2 separate regions of the Homo sapiens genome follow, and region 1 is linked to region 2. The links are contacts of gene promoters, found by promoter capture Hi-C in blood cells and fetal thymus (Javierre and others, 2016). All regions are on one chromosome and are shown on one strand. Each heading gives the region's core, a stretch centred on a gene start or on the middle of the fragment in contact. The rest is flanking DNA. Distances are from core to core; before and after follow the strand shown. Region 1 overlaps CAMTA1 (calmodulin binding transcription activator 1). Region 2 holds the start of DNAJC11 (DnaJ heat shock protein family (Hsp40) member C11).

Region 1 (3,119 bases), core at 58-2,557, 520 kb after region 2:
TCAAGCACTTGATGGGTATTGCACTCTCCTACCTTGTGCCAGAGACTGTGTGAGACTCGGAGAGTTGGTAACACACCCAGAGTCTTGCCTTCGGGGGCTTTCACGAGCAGAGCCATTGCTCCGGCTTTTGGGTTTCCATAGTGTGCATTAGCCTTTGAAGGCCTCCAGGAAGTCCCTCCAGAATCAGACCTGTTCCATTGTGTTCACTGAGAATTCTGCAAATTTCTTTGGTGATGGGACTTGATTCTTCTTTATATGGTACCAGGCAGACCAGTGAATGCGTCGTGAAACACCTCTCCAGGCCCGTGGAATGGGGTGGGGAACGCTGGGGTCTCAGTGTGAGCCTGGCCTTTGGATTCAGACAGTGCTGAATTACAGTCTCAGCCCTGCTTCTTGCTGGCTGTGGGGCTGGGGCCACATGAACCGGCTAAGCTTTGGCTTTCTCAGAAATAGTTTGGGGATAATGATTCCTGCCTAGTGGGAAGATTAAATAAGATAAAGGAATGGCAAAGTTTTATCCCATGGTCAGGGAGGATGGTGACTGCCTTGTGCCATGGGTGACCCCTGCCTTCCTTCAGAGGGCATGTGCACAAGCTGGTGCATACACACACACACACACACACATACACACACACACACACACACAGGCTTCCTGTAGTCCTCGGTTGCCTGGGAGGCAGCAGTGACTCTGCCTTCTAGAAGTCGTCTGAACTGTCTGCTTTCCAAACAGGGGCGACAGGACTGTGACTCGAGGTGATGGGTTGCTGAACTGCTCTGCTGCCAGACACATTTTGCTGGCTTCTCATAATGTCACTGAGATCTGGGAAATGGACCAAGCACGATTTCCAGCTAAATGAAACACTTTGGGGCCATCAGCTAAATAGATGATGCTTTTGAGAAAACCCCATGAGCATTGTGTCAGACAGGCCGTGGGACCCTGCAAGCCTGTCTTTTTCTGTGCTCGTCTGGGTGATGAGACATCGCCCGGGCTGGTTCCATGAGCACCTCTGGCTGTGAGGACCTGCGTCTTCTGTCTCAATGCACCTGCGGGGAGGCTGAGATTTGATCCTCATGGAACATTCAATCCTTTCTGCATCTCGCTGTCTTCCTGCCCTCCTCTTTCTCCCTTCCTCTTGCCTGACTGTTGACTACAAAATAGGATATTATTTAGGAACGTGTCCTTGCCTCCCTCCCTGGCTCTACATCACCCCATGACATAGTGGCTGTGCTCAGGCGGAGAGTGAGTTATGTTTCTGTGGGCAGGAGTGGGTCATGAGTCCTGAGTCCTCCCTAGACAGCCCCAGCCCTTTCTCTTTGTTCCAAGGGGCCCAGCCACCATATTGATTGTTTCATCCCTCTGCACTGCCCAGAGCTGCCTCCTGGAGCACGCTCTCTTCTTTCCTGATGGCAACGGTCCCACCTGATGGCAATGGTCCCTGGGCCAGAGGATGCCCATTGGTCTTCATGGAGAGAGCTTGGGTCAGGCCCACTTGGTCTCCAATCCTGGCTTCGCCGCGTGCCAGCTCTGCAGTGGTGCCAGCTTATCCTGCTAAGCCTAGCTTCCTCTTCTACGTGGGTATATCTGCCTCAGGTGCAGCTGTGAGGATCCGGGGTGATGCTCATGAGGTGCCCGGCACCCTGTGTGGCACAGAAATGACCAGAAAATACCAACTCACCCAATGCCAAGTCTTCACTGTCCTTAAGATCTCAAACCTTTTTTTCTTGATCTTCTTCCCTTGATGACCAACGCTCTTGTTCCTCTCGCCCTTGCGGGCCACCCCCTCATACATCTTTCCTTGGGCCACAACTTAGGCCTTTGCCTTGCCTTTACTTACCTGTTGATCCACCCACCCACCCACCCACCCACCCATCCAACCATTCATTTCTTGCTTCATTCATCCAGTGATGTACTGAATGTTTCCTACATGTGTATGTCAGGCTAGGGTGAGCAAAGCAGATTCAGTGTCTCCCTACCCTAAACTTAGTGCAGGAGAGGATAGAGACAATGGAACAGGTGCATGTGCGTGTGAGTATGTGTATGTGTGATTGTGTGCGTATGTGTGTGAGTGTATGCATGCGTGTGTGTATGTGTGTGTGAGTGTGTGATGGGAGGTAGGTGCTAACAGGGAGAGTCTTGAGAAATGGATACTAGGGTCACCTAACAGGGTCCTGAGGGGTCAGGAAAGCTTCATAGAGGAAGTGACTCTTACCTCCTTGAGCAGATATAAGCAACCTGAGGCCAGGGGTTGTGCTTTCTAGGGCCTCAGAACACCAGCATCGTCAACAGGTGAGTGCCTGCCATTTATATGAGGCCCTGGGTTTGCAAAGAGGGATGAATATGCAACATAAATAGTAATGCAAAGGGACAGTTAATAAATACTTGTCCGATGAATTCATGGATGCATGTGCCATTGCCAGGCTTATATTTGCTAAGCAATCTTCCCAGCATGTGTTAAATCTCTGACTCACCATGAATAAGGAGCTTAGAAGAGCTCATTTGAGTTTCCACGTGGTTCATGAATATGCAAGCGAGATTCCTTTTAATCTCAAATTTTATTTTATTAGATGTATTTACATGTATTTATTAGTTCTCAGGTTTACCTTGGGGCCTATGGGATATTTAACGAAGGTATCATCCCATCTTCACTGCAGTTGTTAGAGGGCGGGGTGGAAGATTGCTGAATAACTCGATCACCCCAGATGACCAGAGATCTTCTGGGTGTGTAATGACCACAGACTAATCTTAATCATAATCACTACCATGAACCCACATGACATGCAGTTGTATAAAGGATGGGGCACCTTAACGTTTGTAGCACCTTTACATAAAGCCAGAGTGCTCAAGCCATCCTGGACCTCACCCGATGGGAGGGAGAATGATGCTCTGCCAGGTGGAGGCCTTAGGTCTTGTCAGTCTCCTTTTACTGCAGGAGAGGCTGCAGGCTTAGCTGGAAACATAATCGCTGCTCAAGGTCAGGCTGTGCCCAGTGGCCGAGGCGCTTGGTGAGCTTTCCACTGGATGGCCTAAATTTGCACCGCTCTGCAGGCTCTCGTCCCAGTTGGCAAGGGCGCCACAGCTGGATGGCTCAGCGTCCACCCAAAGGGAAGTGGAAAAACCA
Region 2 (2,908 bases), core at 279-2,778:
ATAATCCCACCACCCTTTGCTGACTCTCTTTTCGGACTCAGCCCATACGCACCCAGGTGATTAAAAAGGTTTATTGCTCACACAAAGCCTGTTTGGTGGTCTCTTCACACGGACGCGCGTGACACTCAAGGATACAGTACCAGAACTAGCAGCTTTGTAGTCCAAGGACTGGTAAGGTAAGGTGACAGACTAGCATGGAGCTCACAAGCTGGGCTCCAGAGTCAGACTGCCTGGGTTGAGTTCAGGCTCTTGCACTTTCTAGTAGTGTGACTTTAGACACACTACTTAATCTCTCTATGCCTTGGTTTCCTCAAGTGTAAATCAAGGGCTATCATAATACTTACCTTAAGAGCTATCCTCAGAATTAAATGAGATAACAGTACAAAGTTCATTCAGCATAGTGGTCCCACACAAGATAAGTTTGTATTATTAACATCACATAGACTAATATTTACTGACAACACACACTGAACCCGCTTTGGTTAGCATAGCCAAACTTGGCTAGCTTTCATTACCACTGGAAAACCTGAGAGATGGAATTAGGAATTCTCTGGCAGGGCTGAAAAGTCTGGACCCATCGGCTTAAAGAAACTGATCCACCTCATGACCTGACCCTGGAAGCCTTCTCGCCCTTCACACCTATCTCAACTCCAGACTAGTCAAGAACAAAGGAGTGTAGTGGGGCCCTACTACTGCCAGGCTATGTGAGACTCTCTCATGTTATCTTTTATTCGTTGAGGAGACAGGGTACAAGTGCTTGGTGTGAATGTTGAAGCTGTTGTTAGGGCACCACTTTTCTGGCCTAGGGCTTCTTCCTAATCTGCAGCCTCCGAGCCGAGGGTCTGTGTCCCGGAGGCTCTGCCTGCAATTTCTGGACATCGGGTCCAGGGGAATGAAAGAGGGCATGAGACGCATGCCTCTGAGGCTGGACCCACTTCAGAGGCAGAGCGTCCCCACGAAAGACTCGGGAACCGGAAAAAGCCCTAAGGACGTTCCCTAGTGGCCTTGACCTTGGTGGGTGAGACTCAGTTCGCCATCCTGCTGGCGGCGGGCGATGACACAGCCCCTCAGCCAGGACGAGTATGTGGGCTGAGCGCGAGACGGGGTCTCGGAGGACTGCTAACCCCACTACGGTGGCCTCCTCGGGGCCCCCGTTTCCTCTTGAGCGTGCGGGGGCCTCTGGCCCTACCCGGACACAGTGCACGCGGCGCACTGGCCTTCAGGAGCTGGGGCGGAGGCTGGCCCCGGAACCCCCGGCGGGAGGGTCTGGGCGGTGGGGACGCCTCCATCGGGCGGCTGGCGTGCACGTCGCCGGGGTCACGCGGCCTCCCCGACGGACCCGAGCCTCCCGTGGCGGGGGTGGGGCGGCCACCGCCAGCCCGGCCCTCCCGAACGACCGGGCTCGGCCTCAGCCCCCAGAGCGTCCAGCCGCTGGCCTCACCTCCCTGCGCACGTTCAGCAACGAGTAATAGTCTTCATTGTCCAGCTCCTCCTCGCTCAAGGCCGTCGCCATCTTCGCAACCTTTCACCCCGCCAAACCGGCAAGGCCGTGCTCAAGAGGGGCCAGTGATCCGCGTCAGGGACAGCGCGGGCCAGCCCGGCTGCGCCACAGCGGCCCCTGGCGGCCCGGAGCCGTCCGCGCCCGGCGGGAGTGCGCCTGCGCTTTGCGCCCCCGCGCGGCCTAGGGCGGGACGCGGCGCCTAGGCAGCCCTGGCGGGGTGACCACGCGGGTGTCTCTTCGTGCTCCCAATGGACGCGTGGCACGCGGCGTGGCTGCGTCCTCGGGGGCCTGAGATCCAGCCAGGACTCCCTAGGGCTTTTCCTGTACTAGAAAGGGAAACTTTGCTTTTTTTTTTTTTTTTTGAGACGGAGTCATACTCTGTCGCCCAGCCTGGTGTGTGTGCAGTGGCGCAATCCCGGCTCACTGAAGCCTCCACCTCCCGGGTTCAAGCGATTCTCCTGCCTCAGCCTCCCGAGTAGCTGGGACTCCAGGCGCGCGCCACCACGCCCAGTTAATTTTTTTGTATTTTTGGTAGAGACACGGTTTCACCATGTTGGCCAGGCTGGTCTGAGGCTCCTGAACTCAGGAGATCCTCGGCCTCCCAAAGTGCTGGGATTACAGGCATGAGCCACCGCGTCCTGCCTAGAAAGGGAAACTTTGAAGTCACCTCCAGGAGATTGTCATCCTCTGGGAGACAAACCCCTGTGATACCACCTGTTACCCCACTGGCCCCAAACTCCTGGAAGAAGCGCGAGGTGCCCCCAGTGCAGGGTGCATCCGGATCCTAGATATCCCCCAAATGACATTTGTTCCTACCTCCATTGTCTTTTCTCTTGGCCACCCAGAAGCCTTCCTGCCCAGAACAGGCCTCCTCATTTTAGTTATTTGTTATTGCTCTAATTTAGGAGCACCTGGCCATCTTTTCTGCTGCTTAAATGACAAAGCAATAACTATTTGGTTCCTGATATAATTGTCTCTGGCAGGCATGTGTACCTGCAGTCCCTACCCCAGAGCCATTCTCCTGTAAATTTCTCCCTTATAATTTATCGGTGGAGTCTAATTGATTTCAACCTGGTGCCTGCTGTTTGGTGCATTATTAAAGATGTCTTGGTTACAACAATCTAAATAATTTAAAGGTCTTCGAAATGACGCCATTGTCAAGGGAAGGTGGACAGCAGCCCACTCTTGCCACCTGTTTGGTTCCCGCTGACCTGCGCAAGTCTCAGAAACCTTTGTTGTTCCTTCACTAACCACCAGTCCATAGCCATCCCCGTTGCCCTTCATAAGCAGGTCTCCTGGGAAGCCCCGAACACCTGTCTGTGGATTTGAGAGGCTGATTTCTTTCTCTTTCTAATTTTTGGCCAGATGTGCACCATCTGGGCCTGTGTCTCATCCCTTCCAAGTTGC

What was found. Contacts are between HindIII fragments. The CHiCAGO score rates a contact against its expected background, and 5 or more counts as called.
Region 1: a fragment that was not itself captured here is called in contact with the fragment with the promoter of DNAJC11 in region 2 in 1 of 17 cell types (megakaryocytes); the score reaches 7.0 in megakaryocytes.

Annotation. Positions count from the first base shown.
Region 1 is chr1:7,221,304-7,224,422 of GRCh38, forward strand. The region is part of intron 4 of CAMTA1 (calmodulin binding transcription activator 1); the gene reads left to right. Among named protein-coding and RNA genes, the nearest start is that of CAMTA1-IT1, 140 kb to the right of the region's middle. RefSeq lists an enhancer at 3,025-3,119. The HindIII fragment of the contact is 1,754 bases long and covers 431-2,184 here.
Region 2 is chr1:6,700,288-6,703,195 of GRCh38, forward strand. It overlaps DNAJC11 (DnaJ heat shock protein family (Hsp40) member C11), which reads right to left and starts at 1,529. Exons shown (of 16, transcript NM_018198.4): 1 at 1,442-1,529. The coding sequence starts at 1,513. RefSeq lists a silencer at 1,316-1,765. The HindIII fragment of the contact is 16,969 bases long and covers 1-2,908 here.